2 separate regions of the Homo sapiens genome follow, and region 1 is linked to region 2. The links are contacts of gene promoters, found by promoter capture Hi-C in human tissues and cell types (Jung and others, 2019). All regions are on one chromosome and are shown on one strand. Each heading gives the region's core, a stretch centred on a gene start or on the middle of the fragment in contact. The rest is flanking DNA. Distances are from core to core; before and after follow the strand shown.

What was found. The method cuts DNA at HindIII sites, captures the fragments that hold promoters and counts their contacts. A contact is called where the count stands out against the background at its distance.
Region 1: a contact is called between a fragment that was not itself captured here and the fragment with the promoter of PEX5L in region 2, in 1 of the 25 tissues and cell types used here (thymus).

The regions. Positions count from the first base shown.
Region 1 is chr3:180,323,063-180,325,948 of GRCh38, reverse strand. It overlaps the pseudogene RALBP1P1. Among named protein-coding and RNA genes, the nearest start is that of LINC02053, 90 kb to the left of the region's middle. The HindIII fragment of the contact is 6,414 bases long and covers 1-2,886 here.
Region 2 is chr3:180,035,573-180,038,525 of GRCh38, reverse strand. It overlaps PEX5L (peroxisomal biogenesis factor 5 like), which reads left to right and starts at 1,589. Exons shown (of 15, transcript NM_016559.3): 1 at 1,589-1,947. The coding sequence starts at 1,927. RefSeq lists a silencer at 1,474-1,523. The HindIII fragment of the contact is 6,291 bases long and covers 1-2,953 here.

The DNA of each region.
Region 1 (2,886 bases), core at 159-2,658, 290 kb before region 2:
AAGGACACGTGTACATTCTAGCCCAAGCAAGCAATCGGAGTCATTCTGTTTTTAAGGAAGGCCAGTTGTTTAAAAGATTTCTAGTTTGAGCAACATCCTCTGTGGATGCACCAGGCCAAGGTGACTACCTCTGCCAACCCAGTGAGAAGGCCTTTGCTGGTCCCCGCGGTGAGGAACTGGTGGGAAGAGGCGGCCTCCTCCCTGCCGGCCTGCACTGCCCGGGGTGGGTGGACAGGCTCCACAGGCAGCCTCTGTCTGTGGCCAGACTAGGCCATCCTGGTGACTAGGGCTTATCAACTGTGGTTTAGAACTGCAGAAGGAGAGAGTTAGGAGGGTGGGCCAGGGAACACACACCAGGCGCCACTCTGGCCAGAGAACATGAGGCAGCTCCCCCACAGGGATCTGCACCAAGAAGGTGTGGAAGGCACAAGCAAGTGTGAAGGTACCAGAGATCCCAGAGGGTGCAGCTCACAGCGGCCACAGCAGGTGCAGCGCTGACCTGGTGTGGTTCCCCCCTTGAATGAGAAAGAGATCCTGATTCTGCTGTGATAAAAAAGCAAAGCAAGACGATTTATGGTTTAAAAAGAAGCCACTCGAGGGTTAAAATAGTTATTTTAAGTTAACAAAGAAAATTAATCTTTAAATAAGGTGACACTATCTGGAAAACTCATCTGTCCCTAAAGCCCACAATGCATCCACTGCTTCGTTCTCTTAATGGAACCTGAGCCTGACGCAAAGGAGTCAGACGGGTGACAGAGGAAGAGTCTGAGAAGAGAAGACACCTTTACAGAATGTACAGCAAGAAAGCCGGCCTGGCCCCCTGGTTACAGTAAGATGCACAGGTCCTTTCAGTCTCGCGGACTCCAGACGGCCGCGCGGGCTGCTCAGATGGACGTCTCCTTCCTGTCCCTGCTGGGTGATGGCTTCACCGGCTCTTTGCCTGCCTTTGGCTGCTCTTTAGCTTCTTTTGGCCTGAGGACACAGTCTCTGGGCGACTGGACGGCACCACCGCGCCACTCAGGCTCCTGGTCCTCCTGCACCTGCTGCTCAGCCTTGGTTCCCTCCATCTGGAGCAGCCGGAACTGTACGCGCAGCTCGATGATGACCTCGCGCTCCTCTTGAACTGCTTGATTCAAATGATTGCTCTTTATTTCCAGCTCTTCGTTCTGTCTCTGTAAATATTCCAGAATAATCTGCAGCTCCTCCTCATCCTCACTCTCGCTCTCGGAGGAGTACTCCTCAGTCTCACTTCGGCCGTGCTGCTGGTGACTCTGAATTTCAGCAATCTCGGCTCTGAGGCATCCCATCTCTTCTTTTTCTGAGGAAGTCTGCCGGCATAGAAACTGCTCCATGGTCAGGAGCTCCTCCTATTCAGTCAGGATCTCATTCTCCCAAGCAAGGAGAATATTTATAACTTCTTCATTTTCATTCATCTCTTCTTTGGAAACATCCTCTTTTAAAAGACTGGCTATCTTTTGTGTAATCTTGGTTTCACACTCCTGTCTTTAAGCGTCTCTCAGTTTTCTTTTGAGGGCTGTCAAAATTCTTTGGACTTTCCATAATCTTTCTTCTTTAGATAAATCCTTTATCCCACACTGCAGATATCGATGTAAACAATTCAAAAGAAAACCCTGTCTCCTGATCTCCTCCTTGATACCTGCCTGGGTCTCTGGCAGCGTGGGCATCGTGGCCATGTTAGACCATCGCAGAGGTTTCGTCGCTTGCTTTAGTACAACATTTCCAAAGAGTTCTTGCGCATGTGTGAAAAACACATACAGGACTCAATTGCTGATCTGCACAGTTGGGTTGAGCACTATAGAAATGTTCTGTTTATTCATTTTTGTTTCCAGTTCATTTGCAATGACATGGTCCATGTGCACAATGAGCCAAGAAATCAGAAGATAGTTACATTCTGGCAGTTCTTTGAGTAAACGCTGGAATTCCTGCACTTTCTCAGTCTCCGTGGTCCTCCCACAAGCTTCTTCAAATCTCGGCATAAGCTCTTTGGTAACCAAATTCTCTGGAAGGTCTCACAAATACTGCTTCAGCAAACTGGCTACAGTGTTAAGCTCATATTCTTCCAAGTTGGTAGACTCCTTCCGGTCATAGGCTGCTTTTAGCTCATCCACCTTTGATTCAATTCCTGATACTCTGTAGATGCCTTCGCATCATGCCATACTTCTCTAAGTGATCTATACATTCACAGAAAATGGCCGGCAGCCGAATGCCATCATACATCATGGTCCTCTCTACTGCATCAGCCAAAGGAATTCCAAAAATGGGTTTGAGATTTGGAACATCAATCTGAGGCACCTCTGGCTCCTGAATTGGTTTTTCTTTTTCTTCTTTTCCTTCCACTGTTTAACAACATCAGCTTCTGTCAGGTCTTTTGACTTCTTCTCTTTATGTTTTTCTTCTTTGTGCTTTTCTTCTTTATGCTTTTCTTCTTTGGGTTTCTGTTTTATTTTAAAATCCTTCTCTTTCTTTTTAGAAAAGCTGGGCTTCTTGAAAACATGGATTCCCTTGAGCCTCTTCATTTTGGAAGGACTTTCTGCCTCATCTCCAGAGCTATATTCCTGAAAGGCTGCATAGCCGTCAGTCCTCTTTTCCTTTTTCTTAAATTTTCCTTTTTTCTTCCCATGGTCTTTCTCATCATCAGGCACTATATCAGGAGGCTTATGGAGGATGCCATGGGGACGTGAGGGCTGGCCAGTGCGGTACAGTCCAGGAAACTTAGTAGGACTGATCTCTTCAGAGCTGGGGGTCTGGGTAAGCCCGCTGCCATGCTCCATCCTGCGGTGTTCACTGGCGCTGCTGGTGGGGGCAGGAAGCATTCAGTCTTGCTAATGCCCTGACTAGGAAGGGAGGAGGTCTTCTCTGTTACCT
Region 2 (2,953 bases), core at 340-2,839:
AAAAAATAAGTTTTTTATACAGAGTTTAGACATGAAAAAACTGATGTCCAAAGTAGTAAAAGGAAATTGTCCAAGGGTAACTACTAGTGGAATCTAATAGGAATCCATGTCTCCTGCTTACAGGTCTTAGTCCTTTTGTGTTTGTTTGGTTGGTTGTTTTAGGACCTCAGATGCATTGAATTGGTTCATTTCACATCCTTTTGTTCATTTCACATTCTCCTCATTAGTCCATACATGGTTCTATTTTATTTAGTTACACAGTAATTTTTAATAGGATATTAGGTGTCCTATGAATCACTACCCGGCATAGAAGATAAGACATTAACATCTAAACTTCAAGTGAAATGCTTCCCCATCTATTTCCCTGCCTCCCTTCACCCAGGGTCACCAACACTCTGAACACTATATTCATTGTTCCACTGCTTTCCTTTTTATATTGTTGTATATGAATATATGAATACACATTGACATTTCTAGGGATTTTTTAAACTTTATAAAAAGCATATTATGCTATATGCAATATTTTGGGGATATCATGCTGTACATAATATGAGGGGCCTGTAGAATTGGAGATGTTTTTACCAACAAAATTAGGTAATCACAGTATACACCACCCCGTGGTGTGTGTGTATATATGAACATTTATTGTGTAGACACATCAAACTACCCAGTCTCAACTTGAGACATATTTAAATGCACTCTTCATATATGTGTGTATGTGTGTGTAAGTGTATAGTAGTAAAGGTCTATTCATTCAGCAAATATTTATTGTGTGCCTGCCATGTGTCAGGAAGTACTAAATACCTTACTGTGCACACACGTGCAAAACCAAGTGCAACACTCCACCCCCCTAAAAAAAAGTCCCTGATCTCATGGAAATAACATTGTACAGAGGGAGAGACAGACAGTACATAAAATAAATATGGAAAATATAAAGGATGTTAGGTGATGTTACGTGCTAGGGAAAAAAATAAAACATGCCAGATCCTCAGGGACTAGGGTTTGCCGTTTTAAATAGAATGCTCGGCGATGAACTGGGGATGAGGGGAGCGGGGAGTCTTTATTTAACGGGTGATACGGACGTAACTTTCGAGAGCTGAATCAGAACCGAAGTAAACTCTTCGGCAACCCCTGCACTCAGCCTATAATGTCTGTAGGATAACAGGCTCAGCCGCGGTGGATGGCCCCCGGAGAGACGATGCATGTCTTCCCGCCTTTCTTCCGGCCGGCCATCCTCTCCGCTAGAATCGCCCTGCCCGCCGACGCCGCACCTGAACGCCGCGCTGCTGCGGGCGTTGTACACCAGCGCGACCACCGCCTGCCGGCACCTCGCCTTGCCGCCGCGCGCGCGCAGCCCCGAGGACGCGCTCGGGGAGCGCGCACCGCCCGGGGCCGCCCTCGGGCCGCTCCCAGGCCCCTGGGAACGCGCGCGCGTGCCCGGTCCCGCGGCCTCTCGGCAGGCACGCGGCTGGGAGAACGGCGCGCGCCCCGCTCGGCAGCTGCGGCGGCGGCTGGTGTAGGCGCTCACGTCAGGGCTGGGAGGAGGGGGTTCGCAGCTCAGAGAGAGAGAGACATGAGGCAACCTGGCAGGAAGCGAGAAAGAGTTCGGCGAAGAAGGAGTGAGTTCTAGAGACGCCCCGCGAGCAGGACCCGCGCCTGCAGGAGAGCCTGGCCGACCCGGCTCCTCGCCTTCTCTGCGCGCTCTCCCGCGTCCGCTTTCAGCACCCCGAGCGGAGAACAGTTCCCGGCAGCCCGCAGCGCTGCCGAGTGGCCGCCGGCCGGCCGAGTACCCGGAGCTCCAGGGGGCTCAGGAGCACCCTCTGAGAACCCGCTGTGCACCCACCTTTTCCCCTCTTTTGGTGGGCAAGTAAGCACGGGGGAAAAGCATCCGGTGGCCTCAGGGAGCCCTGAAGAAACCGAAGCAGAATGTACCAGGGACACATGCAGGTAAGACATTTCTATAGGGCTGGAGAGAATTCTTGGGGGCTAATTTAAGAGCAAGGCGGTTCACCAAGTTTCTGTGGTCAAGTGCTGCCTTCGCACAGCTCAACAAGTGAAGTGATGCAACATGACCGTGACATTTCTGTCCGGTGCTGCCGGGAAAACTAGACCGGTTTCCGAAGGTGGGAGAAGGGGAGGGAAGACCTCAGAACTTCGATTGGGGAAGTTTGTTTTCTGTGCATTCCCTGAGCCTGTTTCTTTAAACAGGATCAAGGAATCGAAACAGAGGAAACCCTAGAGATGACCGTGTTTCCGTTGTAATCCTATTGATGCATCTCAGCATGTATGTCAACTGAAGGGCAAACAATAATAGGAAAGACAAAGCTTTTCCTTTACCATCTGAAAAGGTTGCTTGACTTAGAACACTCTGTCACTTTCGTTTCATTTTTTAAAGTGTTATATTTAAAAAACGATTTATAGTGTATTTTCCCCCTTCACATTATGGGACATTGCCATCTACTCCAATAGTCACAGGATGACTTGGGAGGATGAATTTCAAACACATGTCCAAGGAGCTCTAATGTTTTTCAGGGGAGGTGCTGCCTCCGGTTGTTATTAATATTCATCTGAGCTGAGCCGCTGCTTCTTTCCGATGCAAACACACTCTACTCTCTTGGGCAAGATTACTTTAACCTTGACTCCAGTTCTCATTCATACGGTTGGTTGGTTCTTATAAAGGCAGATATATGCTTTGGGAGAAAAATAAAATACTAACTCAGCTTTCTAAAGTATGAACTGGACTCTTTATCGCACCTAAATGGTTTAGTCATCAGGTTTGATGTTTGGGCTTCCTTTCCATTCCAAAGATGGTCAAATACAATCATTATGTGTGATGCCTTTATCCTGGTGTATAACATTTATGAATACTGAGGATTTTGCTTCTGTGTCTTTTAGAGCAATTGGAAATAGATAAATATGTTGTTATATTTATGACTTAGTACTACCCAGATTT